3 separate regions of the Homo sapiens genome follow, and all the other regions are linked to region 3. Evidence: promoter capture Hi-C in human tissues and cell types (Jung and others, 2019). All regions are on one chromosome and are shown on one strand. Each heading gives the region's core, a stretch centred on a gene start or on the middle of the fragment in contact. The rest is flanking DNA. Distances are from core to core; before and after follow the strand shown. Region 1 overlaps BRF1 (BRF1 general transcription factor IIIB subunit). Region 2 has its middle 22 kb from the start of CEP170B. Region 3 holds the start of GPR132 (G protein-coupled receptor 132).

The links. Contacts are between HindIII fragments. The study calls those that stand out against the background at their distance.
Region 1: a fragment that was not itself captured here is called in contact with the fragment with the promoter of GPR132 in region 3 in 1 of the 25 tissues and cell types used here (IMR-90 fibroblasts).
Region 2: a contact is called between a fragment that was not itself captured here and the fragment with the promoter of GPR132 in region 3, in 2 of the 25 tissues and cell types used here (dorsolateral prefrontal cortex and lymphoblastoid cells).

The regions. Positions count from the first base shown.
Region 1 is chr14:105,285,744-105,289,582 of GRCh38, forward strand. It overlaps BRF1 (BRF1 general transcription factor IIIB subunit), which reads right to left. Exons shown (of 18, transcript NM_001519.4): 2 at 553-633. Among named protein-coding and RNA genes, the nearest start is that of BRF1, 13 kb to the right of the region's middle. RefSeq lists an enhancer at 180-1,078. The HindIII fragment of the contact is 6,229 bases long and covers 1-3,839 here.
Region 2 is chr14:104,841,652-104,845,582 of GRCh38, forward strand. No RefSeq gene overlaps it. Among named protein-coding and RNA genes, the nearest start is that of CEP170B, 22 kb to the right of the region's middle. RefSeq lists enhancers at 2,453-3,064, 3,065-3,676. The HindIII fragment of the contact is 5,479 bases long and covers 1-3,931 here.
Region 3 is chr14:105,063,514-105,067,213 of GRCh38, forward strand. It overlaps GPR132 (G protein-coupled receptor 132), which reads right to left and starts at 1,917. Exons shown (of 4, transcript NM_013345.4): 1 at 1,866-1,917. RefSeq lists enhancers at 136-195, 606-745, 2,423-2,940, 2,616-2,785, 2,996-3,065 and 1 more. The HindIII fragment of the contact is 15,172 bases long and covers 1-3,700 here.

The DNA of each region.
Region 1 (3,839 bases), core at 11-2,510, 220 kb after region 3:
TGAAATGGCTGAAAATGTCCTATAAATCACACATCCGATAAAAGACTTGTACCTAAAACACATAAAATCACACATCCGATAAACGACTTGCACCTAAAATATATAAAATCACACATCCGATAAAAGACTTGTACCTAAAACACATAAAGAACTTTTTCAACTCAATCATAAGACAAATAACCCAGCAGACATTTCTCCAGTTTGTGGTGAACTGGCACTTTGACAAAACGCAGTGAGAATGTCACTACAATATCCAACTGCTATAAATGTGTTATTTCTGCCTCCATCTCACTGAGGCCATCAAGCAATGGCTGTGGATCCTGTGGGATCCACTGGGTTCTCCCCAAACAGCCCTGGCAGAGTCTGCAGGACACCCAGGAGGGGACTCAGGGCACAATTCCTCCTGGAAAGCAGCCTGGGCTGGGCGTGCAGGGTGACGAGGAAGTGGCAGGCCATGAGGTCCATGGCTGAGTCAGTGCCCTCCACCCTAGCACCACCATCCCCATCTCTGGGACCCGCCGCACGCTCAGCAGCATCCGCGGTGGGAAATACCATTCTGCAGGGTCTGCGCTCTCGACTCCTTCCCCAGATTCACGTGGAAGCCGCCACCCAGAGTCGGGGTTTTGCCAGCACCTGGAAACACAAAAAAAGACAGATCAGCCAAAACTTGGAGATCTGCATTTACAACCCTTTCCTAACATCCACAGACACAAAGTGAGAACAAAGCGGGGGTCAGCACTCATGGGGGAAGCAGCAGGTCGGCCCCCCGCACCTCCGTCACTGAGCCAGGAACCCCAGTGGGGGAAGCATCTCTCACTCTGCCCAGCCAGCAGGGTTGAGGGTGGGCCAACTGCACTTTCCGCATTTTCTTTTTTTTTTTGAGACGGAGTCTCCCTCTGTTGCCCAGGCTGGAGTGCAGTGGTCCCATCTCCACTCACTGCAAGCTCCGCCTCCTGGGTTCACGCCATTCTCCTGCCTCAGCCTTCCAAGTAGCTGGGACTATAGGTGCCCGCCACCACGCCCGGCTGGGATTACAGGCACTTTCTGCATTTTCTAACCATGTCCCTAACACACTGCAAGTCCAGAGTGGACGCTGTCAAATGGCTGCCGGGCGAGAACACAGATGTACCTCCAAACCTCTGCAAGTGGTGCACACACAGCATGGGCTGGCCGTCCCCCTTGCCCCAGGCCAGCCCACTCAGATATCACTCCTGCATGGTGACCACATGTGAACACATCCACCTCCCTGCTGGACTGCAGGGGACGCAGGTACCATCCCATGTGCCCCAAGGCACTGCAACCAGCCAGTCTGCAGAAGGCCCCCACGCCTCAGTCCACCCACCCATGGGGAGGCTGCAGCTGAACCTGCTGGACACTCTACTCCGAAGCTCTGCCAACTGACAGCATGCCTACGACGTCCACCACATTCTGCCCTGCAGGGCTTCGGGGTTAAGACCTGGCCCTGGTACCTCTGGAAACATCAGGTGGACATTTGGATTGTTCACCAGGTTCACCAGCCCGATCGCTGCAGCCTGATCTCCCAATGAGCATGGTGGACATGTGGATTGTTCACCAGGTTCACCAACCCAAACGCTGCGGCCTGATCTTCCAACGAGAACAGTAAGGTGAGGCCCCAGGCATGCCCAAAGATGGGGAGAGCTGGAAAGTGCCCCCCGCCCCGCAGCGTCGGCCCTCAGTGGTTGGCACAGGGGCCAGTGCATTTGTGACAAAGCACAGACACAGGACTGGAGGCTGCTGCAATCGGGACGCGCAGACAACCTTGGCCACTTGGGGGAAGGCAAGTGTGTAGGGCCTGTCGGAGGACACTGGAAGGATAGGATGCAGAAGCAGAAAGCCAATCGCTGGAGCCTGGGGCCAGGCCCTCCAGGGAAACCATGAGGCAGGGACCTCAGCGTCATCCAGGGGCAGCCACCAGCACAGACAAGGCAGAACAGGCACGGCCTCTGGCTTCACAATGAATGTAACTGAATCCCAAACAAATACTAACAACACTCTTTAAAGACTCCAGTAAAATGATTCTAAAGTTCAGTTGGAAGCAAAAAGGAATTAGAGCAGCCAAGAAAAGTTTTGAAGAGAGCAAGGGGCAGCTACTGGGCCCGTCCGGAAACTCAGAGCTGAACAGGGTCAGGTGGCACTCAGCTTTTCCTGGTGGCAGCAGAGGCAAAGCCCGGGCCTCCTTCAGGCTGAGGCCCAGAGCCGGCCTCCTGGTGGGTAACGTGGCCACAGGGGTGGCCGGCAGCAGCAGCAGGGCACCAGCACTGAGCACAGGCCTCCAACAAAGGTGGTGCCGGGACGGGGGCAGTGCCTGGAGACTACCTAGGTTGTCACAACTGGGATCTATGTACTAGTTTTCTGTGGCTGCCATAAAAATTGCCACAAACCTAGTGGCTTTCAAGAAGCTGTAGAAGGTCCGGGCGCGGTGGCTCACGCTTGTAATCCCGGCACTTTGGGAGGCCGAGGTGGGTGGATCACGAGGTCAGGAGATCGAGACCATCTTGGCGAACATGGTGAAACTCTGTCTCTACTAAAAATACAAAATTAGCCAGGCGTGGTGGCGGGTGCCTGTGATCCCAGCTACTCAGGAGGCTGAGGCAGGAGAATCGCTTGAACCCAGGAGGTGGAGGTTGCAGTGAGCAGAGATGGTGCCACTGCACTCCAGCCTGGGTGACAGAGCAAGACTCCGTCTCAAAAAAATAAAAATAAAAATAAAAATAAAATAAAGTAAAAAAGAAGCTGGAGTGGTGGCCGGGCATGGTGGCTCACACCTGTGGTCCCAACACTTTGGGAGGCCGGAGCAGGAAGATCGCCCAACCCAGGAGTTCAATACCAGCCTGGGCAACACGGGGAGACCCATTTCTTTCTTTCTTTCTTTCTTTTTTTTTTTTTTGAAACAGAGTTTCGCTCTGTCACCCAGGCTGGAGTGCAGTGGCGTGATCTTGGCTCACTGCAAGCTCTGCCTCCTGGGTTCATGCCATTCTCCTGCCTCAGCCTCCCGAGTAGCTGGGACTACAGGTGCCTGCAACCACGCCCGGCTAATTTTTTGTGTTTTTAGTAGAGACGGGGTTTCACTGTGTTAGCCAGGATGGGGGGAGACCCATTTCTACAAAAAAAAACTGAAAAAAATTAGCTGGGTGTGGTGGCACCTGCTTGTGGTCCTACTACTCAGGAGGCTGAGGTTGGAGGATCACTAGAGCCCGGGAGGTCGAGGCTGCAATGAGCTGAGATCGTGCCACTGCACTCCAGCCTGGGTGACAGAGCAAGACCCTGTCTCAAAAAAAAAAAAAAAAAGAAGCTAGAACAGGCCAGGCATAGTGGCTCACATCTGTAATCACAGCACTTTGAGAGGCTGAGGCAGGAAGACTGCTTGAGCCCAGGAGTTCAAGACCAGCCTGGACAACATAGCAAGATCCCATCTCTACAAAAAAAAAATGAGCGGGGTATGGTAGGGCATGCCTGTGGTCCCAGCTACTCAGGTGGCTGAGGCAGGCAGATCGTTTGAGTCCAGAAGGTGGAGGCTGCAGTGAGCTGTGATGCACCTCTGCACTCCAGCCTGAGCAACACGGTGAGAACCTGTCTGAACAAATAATAAACTAAACAGAAGCTGGAGCAGGTCGCAGTGGTGTCTCCTTGTGGGGGCTGGAGAGGACCTGGCAGGGCCACAGTGAGGTGCCTGCTGATATGAGAATCCAGAAGAGAGGCCAGGGAGAAACGCAGGACTCAGGAGAGACCCATCCTGGAATAAGGGGGCTTTGAGCAGCACTGATGAGCCAATTCTAAATTCTGCAGAAATCTGGCCCAGGCCTCCCCAGGCTGAGCTC
Region 2 (3,931 bases), core at 767-3,266, 220 kb before region 3:
ATTTCCGCCATCAGCAAATGAGGGTCCCTGGGGCCCTCACACCTCTGGGAGCACTAGGTGCTAGGTTGTCTTCTGTGTCTGACACCTGGGGGTAGATCCCTGTGTGAGCAGTGCTTTAGCTGACACTTCCCTGATGGCTAGTGAATTAGAACTTCTTCAAATGTTTGTTAACCATTTCATATTGCTCTTCTATGAATTGCTTATTTATAACCTTTGCTCATTTTTCTATTTCATTCCCTTCTTTCCTTCCTTCCTTCCTTTCTTCCTTCCTTCCTCCTTCCCTTCCTCCCTCCCTCCTTCCTCCCCTTCCTCCCTCCCTCCCTCCTTCCCTCCTTCCTCCCCTTCCTCCCTCCCTCCCTTACTCCCTTCTTTCCTTCCTTCCTTCTCCTCTCTTTCTTTCTTTTTGACAGGGTCTTGTTCTGTCACCCAGGCTGGAGTGCAGTGGCACGATCATGGCTCACTGCACCTCAACCACCCAGGCTCTAGCAATCCTCCCATCTCAGACCCCCAAATAGCTGGGGACTAAGGGTATGTGCCATCGCGCCTGGCTAATTTTTGTATTTTTTGTAGAGACAGAGTTTCGCCATGTTGTCTAGGCTAGAACTAGTCTCAAACTCCTGGACTCAAGCGATCTGCCCACCTCAGCCTTCCAGAGTGCTAGGATTACAGGCGTGAGCCATTGCGCCTGGCCACACTTTTCTTTTTTGTTCTTTTCTTGGCTGTTCTTCAGCATTTATTCTTCCATATACACTTTAAGATAGTTTTAGTCATTGAAAAGATCTGGGGTTCTACCTGGTATTGCTTTCTTTTGTCCAGATATTGCTCCATATCATTCCATGTTTTCTTCCTATAGGTTCTGTGCCTTCCTTAGTGATTTTCTTAAGCTTTTTATATTTCTTTGTCGCTCTTCTGGATGGGATAGATTTCCCATTGCCTTTGCCAGAAGCTCATTATTGGAATGGAAAGAAAGATTGATCATTGAGCATACTTCTTCTCTTCTCAATTTACCAGATTATTTTATTAAGGCCAGCAGTTTTTACTTGAGTCTCTTAGATCGTTCAGGTGTTCAAGCATATCATCATCAAGAAGAAGAGCTTGGCCAGGTGCCGTGGCTCACACATATAATCCCAGCAGTTTGGGCAGCGGATACAGGAGGATCACTTGAGCCTAGGAGTTTGAGACCAATCTGGGCAACATAGTAAGACCCTCATCTCTATAAAAAAATGTAAAAATAAAAAAAGAAGGGGAAGCTCTGTAATCCTTTTTTACCAATGTTTACGCCAATTATTTCACTTTTATTATGTGCACAAGTGGGTGGCTACCTTCTCCTCTGTACCATCTGTTATTGGGGGCTGGGGGCTCCCGCCTTTCCCTGTGCTGTGGAATAAGTGCATTGGGTCAGACCTGTCTGTTCTCTGCAGGTAAGCAGAGCCCTGCTCTCCTCCTCCTCCCCACTGCCTTTGCTCATGGCCTCGGCCGGGCCCTGCTGGAAACACCAGGTGCTCGCTCCCAGCAGAGGTTTGAACCTCTGTCCCTGCAAGCTTGGGGGTTGGGGTCCTGGCAGATGAGGTACCAGGAGGCCCTTTGGGGGAGGCCCAGGCTCTTTGACTGATGGTCTGCGGGTGTGAGCCCCCAAGTTCTAGGCCTGGGGGCCGAAAGGAAGAAGCTTCGAGGAAGAGTCAAGCAGGCCACCTTGGGCATACGTGCTGTCACCCCGGGATGCCCGCCCAGCGCGCCAAGCCCCCCACGCTCACCTGTAAGTGCAGGTGGTGCTGGAGGCCAGGCCGGGGCCCTGCAGGGGCAGGCACACAGTGGGGCTCCGTCGCCGCAGCGCCCCGGCGGCCTCCTCCTGGCCGCTGGCCCTCCCCTAAGGCTTCCTCATCCTAAACAGCAAGTGAAGCCAAACGAAAACCCTGTCTCTCCCGCCGTTCCCTCCCTCCTGGCCTCCGTCCCCCGGGCTCGCCTGCCCCGCCGCCCGGCGGACCGGTCCCTTCCTGCTTTCCCTGGCGGGTGCTTTCCGCTGCTCTGTTACCCGGAGCCAGGACGCGCATATATTCCCAGAATCCGCGCTCAGTGCGTTCGGTCCCCCGGGACACCTGTTCTCTGCACAGGCGCGTCTGGGCGCAGCGGGGGCAGACACGCGTTCCCGGGCAGCGACTCCGGAAGGCCCGAGGGAGTAAATCTGGCCCTCCCGGTTCAGCACAAAGCTCCCCTGGCCGCCTTTCAAAACCGACCGCCTCCCAACTCTCCGCGGACACGAGTGGCGGCTGCCTCCCCTCCCCTCCCCTAGGGCCGCGCACGCCTCCCGCAGGGTCTCAGTGCCTCCTGGGCGGGGGATAATTCCTGTCCCCACCGGTGTCCTGTACTCGCGGGGTCCCGGGTGTAAGTTCTGGGTCCCGGGCTGGCTCCCTGGTGAGCAAAGCCGCATCGCTCGAATTCCAGAAACCCTTCTCGCCGAGCGCCTGCCTGGCTGCTGAAAGCCTGGAGACTGCGCTCTCGGAGGTGGATTTCGGAACTCAGGAGAGAAGAATGAGACGCTCCCTAGTACCCCTAGTCCCCCAGGGGTGGGAGGGGACTGTATCTCAAAATAAGATTCTGCAACTCGACTTTTATAGGGGAAACCAGGCACGCATTTCAAAATCTTCTCATCCGTCCCCACCTCCTTGCGCCGCTTTTCCGCGCCTCCTGTGCCACGGAAGCTGCCCTCTGCTCCTGCTGTTTCCAGCCCGGCAGCCCCCAGACAGGATCTAGCTTGGCCCAGCCGGGCCCTGCTTCCTCTGCCTGGGGTCCTCAGGCCATGCAAGTGAGGAAACCCAGGCTCAGAGGGGCCACGTAACTCTTCCCAAATCACCAGCAAGCCTGGTGCAGCCACGGTGGCGCGCATTCGCCCACTCGGAGACCGAGAGGCAGGTTTTCTGCCTGCACAGCCTCCCGCCCAAGGCCAGACCTGCTGGAGGCCCAGGCCCTGGAGATGGCTGTCTTCAGGGAGACTCTTTATGTCACGCTCATTCACTCCCTAGCGCCTCTTTCTGGCAACGGATGTGTCCAGCGTTCAGGTCTCTTAACTTACGGTCTCCGTTTTTCCAAGTTTGGAAATCAGCTCAGAGCAGAGCGGGCAAAGAGGGGCTTTCACTGGTGCTCAGAGCTCACCTGCGAAGGAGGGACCACAGCCTCCGGGATGCAGCGCCCTGGCTGCCTACTGCTGGCTGGCTGGCCCCTCCCCTGCAGATTCCTCCTCACCCAGCCCCGCACAGGCTGAGGGCTTCACTAACCAGAACCATAGTGTGACAAATGCACACTGGGGGGTTACGGAGGAAGAGCAGAGTTGGGGTCAGAAGGCATTTACCCTGAGAAAAAAGGGCACATGGCACACAACCCATGAAGGGAAGGGAGAGGAACAGCATGTGCAAAAGCTCAGAGTTCAGAGTGGTGGCCTGGAGCTTAGCTGGAGTCAAAGGTGATGGTGGGAGGTGAGGGTCTGGTGCAGGTGGTTCTCCCAAGCTGGGCTGAGCTGTATGACTTGACCCTGAGGGGCATGCGGGCCAGGCTGTGTTTTGTGGGGAGGCAGGAGCCAGGACACAGATTGGGGGAAAGGGGTAAAGGAGCCTGGTCCCTGCGGCCGCCTGCTTACCTAGGACCTCAGGACTTGGGGAATAAGTGGCCATCCTTTGGAATGCTCTCAAGGGATCTCAGATAAGGGGAGGCAGAAGAGTGTTCTGGAGAAAGCAGGGCCCATCCTTCTCCACCCCACCACCCTCTCCCCATGTCCCTGGAGCTGGCTCCTCTCCCACAAGCCAGGCCTGGCCAGCCCCTGGTATCTCACCCTGCCAAAGAGCTATGTAGTGGCAGTTCCACACCCTGTGCCCCTCCCCCACCCCACCCACAGTGAGGACCCCCTGGTGTTGGGGACACTCCGGGTCTGTGGGATTTC
Region 3 (3,700 bases), core at 667-3,166:
AGCAGGCGCCTGCCACCATGCCCGGCTAATTTTTTGTATTTTTAGTAGAGAAGGGGTTTCGCCATATTGGTCAGGCTGGTCTTGAACTCCTGACCTCAGGTGATCCGCCCGCCTCGGCCTCCTAAAGTGCTGGGATTACAGGTGTGAGCCACCACGCCCAGCCTGTTTTGTAACTTATGATGGAACTTTTCAGACAGACACAAAAGGACAGAGAAGGAGCCCTGGCCCCTGCCATGTGCAGGGAGCAGTTCCTCATTCCAGCCCATTTGTCAAAAACAGCTCCTCAGGCTGCTGAGGTCTGTCTTGTGGACTATCTGTAATTTCTTTCTTTCTTTTTTTTTTTGAGACAGAGTTTCGCTCTCGTTGCCCAGGCTGGAGTGCAATGGCACGATCTCGGCTCACCACAACCTCCACCTCCTGGGTTCAAGTGAGTCTCCTGCCTCAGCCTCCCAAGTAAATGGGATTACAGGCGTGTGCCACCACGCCCGGCTAATTTTGTATTTTTAGTAGAGACAGGGTTTCACCATATTGGTTACGCTGGTCTCGAACTCCTGACCTCAGGTGATCCACCTGCCTTGGCCTCCCAAAGTGCTGGGATTACAGGCGTAAGCCACCGCACCTGGCTGGATTGCCTGTAATTTCTAAGCTGTTTCACGGTTGCTGGCCATTCCTAGCCATTTCCGTCTTTTACTCCCACCTGCTTTGGCACCAGGCAAACCTATGACCTCTTTTCTGCCGTCACGTTTGAGACAAACCCTAGGGAGGGAAATGTGGAGTCACCAGCTCCAACCTCCCTGCTCCACCACACCCATCCAAAGCCCATTGTCAACTTTCTTATTTTTCCCAATTTGATAGTGTTGCCCAGGCTAGAGTGCAATGGCGCGATCTCGGCTCACTGCAAGCTCCGCCTCTCAGGTTCAAGCGATTCTCCTGCCTCGGCCTCCCAAGTAGCTGGGATTACAGACGTGTGCCAACACGCCCGGCTAATTTTTGTATTTTTAGTAGAGACAGGGTATCACCATGTTGGTCAGGCTGGTCTCAAACTCCTGACCTCAAGTGATCCGCCCACCTCGGCCTCCCAAAGTGCTGGGATTACAGGCATGAACCACCGTGCCCAGCCCCTATCCTCATCTTCTTCCAGGAGCCTCTGCTCTCCCACCTCGGCCTGGCCAATCTCCTGAAATATCATTTTGTGCTCAGCCCAACTGGCCAGTCTTCAGTGGTCAGTCCCAGTCCCTTGCAGTGGTACAGACCCACGTCATGCACTTGACAGAAGGTATTGGGCCCCCCGCCCCGCTGTGCCTGGTGCGCCGAACGCCACTCCAAAGGCCGGTGACCTGCCCAGCTCCAGGATCTTGTCACGTGACTGGGCCAACTGCCACTCACCGCAGCACAGCCCCCACTGCCCTGCTTTTCCCTCTGTGTAACCCCACAAGCAGCACAGGCCCCACAGAGAGAAGCCCAGCCCTTCAGTGCCCCCCGACCAATCACGGAAGCAAGTGGCCAAGGAGAGATTCCAGGGACAAAGTCCAGCCCCCTGACTCACCCCCATCTGGACCAGTAGCCAGGGAAGCCTTTTCCAGAAGAAAGTCTCCAGGAAGGTGGCGGTGACAAAGATACAATGGAAACTGTTGTCCCTCTCCCCCAAATCCTCCGGCCCCATCACATCTGTGGTCACTGGGGGTCCTGGGTTCTCTCGGGAGGGACCCCAGATTAAGAACCCTCAACAAAGCCTCCATCTTTACCAACAAATCACCTTTGCCTTCAGATCCCCCTCTGCCCGCCTCCAGCTCCCAGCCCCCAGCCCCATCCCAGAGCCTGGCCCCCCAGGCCCACTCCCCAGCACGCAGAGCCCAGCGACTTACCCAGGGCCCCGCCTGCGTGGCTAGCCTCGCACCCCTCCCTGCAGTCCTAGCTGAGGTTTCAGGAAGTAGCAGGGGTCTAATTATGTTCTGTCTAGAACTCCCCTAACCACAAACAGGGCTGAGCTAGGGGTTAGCCAACCGGGCTGGGGTATCTTACTGGTGATGACAGCATGGCCTCGTCACCTTCCTGAGGGAGGGAGTGGCAGGAAACCCCAGTCTTACCTCTTTTAGCAATAGCAGCACTCAGAGCCAGGCTCCACTCACTCAGGAGCTCCCAGGCAGGTGCTGGGGCCTGGCGCGGCACAGCGGCTGTCCGTGTGTCCCCAGACAGGCAAGGCAGGACAGGGGTCCTGGAAAGGCTGCAGGGAGGGGTCCTGGAAAGACAAAATCCAGCTCCTCTGCAGCTCAGGCCTGGTGTTGCCCACTCTCGGGCCAGGCAAGCACGGAGCAGGGTGACTTCCCAGAGGCTGTGTCCTCCCAGGAGTCCCTGTCCGGGGTGCCAGGAGTAGAGAGGCTGAGTGCGCCCACTGCAGCCCCGGGACCAGGATGGCACCTGCATGTCCTGGAAGGCTCGGCACAGCCACTGCACACAAGCACCCTCCCCTCCCCGCCTCCCTCTTCCTACATGGGGCAGGGCCGTGTGGGAAGAACAGCCTACTGCACACTCCACATTCCTCCCCCAGCCCTACCTCAACCCCTCCTGCATCCAGAACCAAGCCTGGCCTGGCCCAGGAGCCCTGCGGGTGGGCTTCTCTGTGAGGGGCCCTGTGGGAACTGGAGGGTGGGCAGGCAGGGTTGCCTGGGACAGTCCCCCTCACTGTGGGGCTTCCGGCCATGATGGGCCCAGTTTCCTTGGACAAAGCCAGCTGGCTGTGGACAGCACCTACAACTCCACTCACCTCCAGGCTGCTTCTGAGTTTCAGGGCACAGACCCACCCTGGTGCCCACTCCCGAGCCTGCCAAGCTCCATCCAAGCCAGGCTCTTTCAGCAGTGGGGACAGGGCCGGGCTGAGGGAAGGAGCTGGGGACCACAAATGTCTCCAAGCGACACTGCCCAGCACCGCAGCAGGGACGGTCACTGAGCGAAGAAGCCGCCATCCTGGGTGGGTACACCCACGGCCAGGAGAGGCCGGTGGAGGCCGAGCCCCCAGTCTACACTTTCCCCCAGACACGTGGATCACAGCTGCCCCCTGCTGCAGGGCCGCATGGCTGGAGGCTGCCTCCGAACAGCGATTTCAGAGGGTTTTGTGTGGGTGGCAGTGGAGTCCCTGGAAAGCTGGGCTTTCCCATTGCCCTGGCGGGGAGGCGCAGGTCTCAGGGCAGGGCCTACCTTGGCTTTCCAGAAACACTTGCCCAGGGGACAGTGATCCTCTAGGGGATCTGGTGCAAACACACGCCTCCACAGGCCACTGCTCATGGGGTCACTGGCCTCCCGGGTCTTTGGGCCAGGGCAGCCCCACCCTCGGAGCAGCAATAGACGAAGCCCACATCAGGCCAGTGGGGGTGATGGCCAGGGACAGCTGTGGGTTCCTGTCGCTGGCCCCAGCAGCCTCCTAGGACCTGCCCCGTCCTGCGCCCCACTGGGTGGTCTGTCACGTTCACCAGGCCTCCTCTGCGCCCCCGGTGAGGGGTCCAGGAGTGACATGCGGACCCGGCTCAGGCCATTGTCACCCTCCATGCCTTCTGGCCTTTGCCAGGCAGTCCGGGAATAGCCGATTCAAGTGAGGTCAGTTGAATCCTCTCTTTGGGTCCTTCACTGGGGTCTGGGAAAGGAAAGTTGGGTCCCTTGGGTGGCAGGAGCTGTGGGTATGAACTGGGGGGTTGGCAGCCGTGTA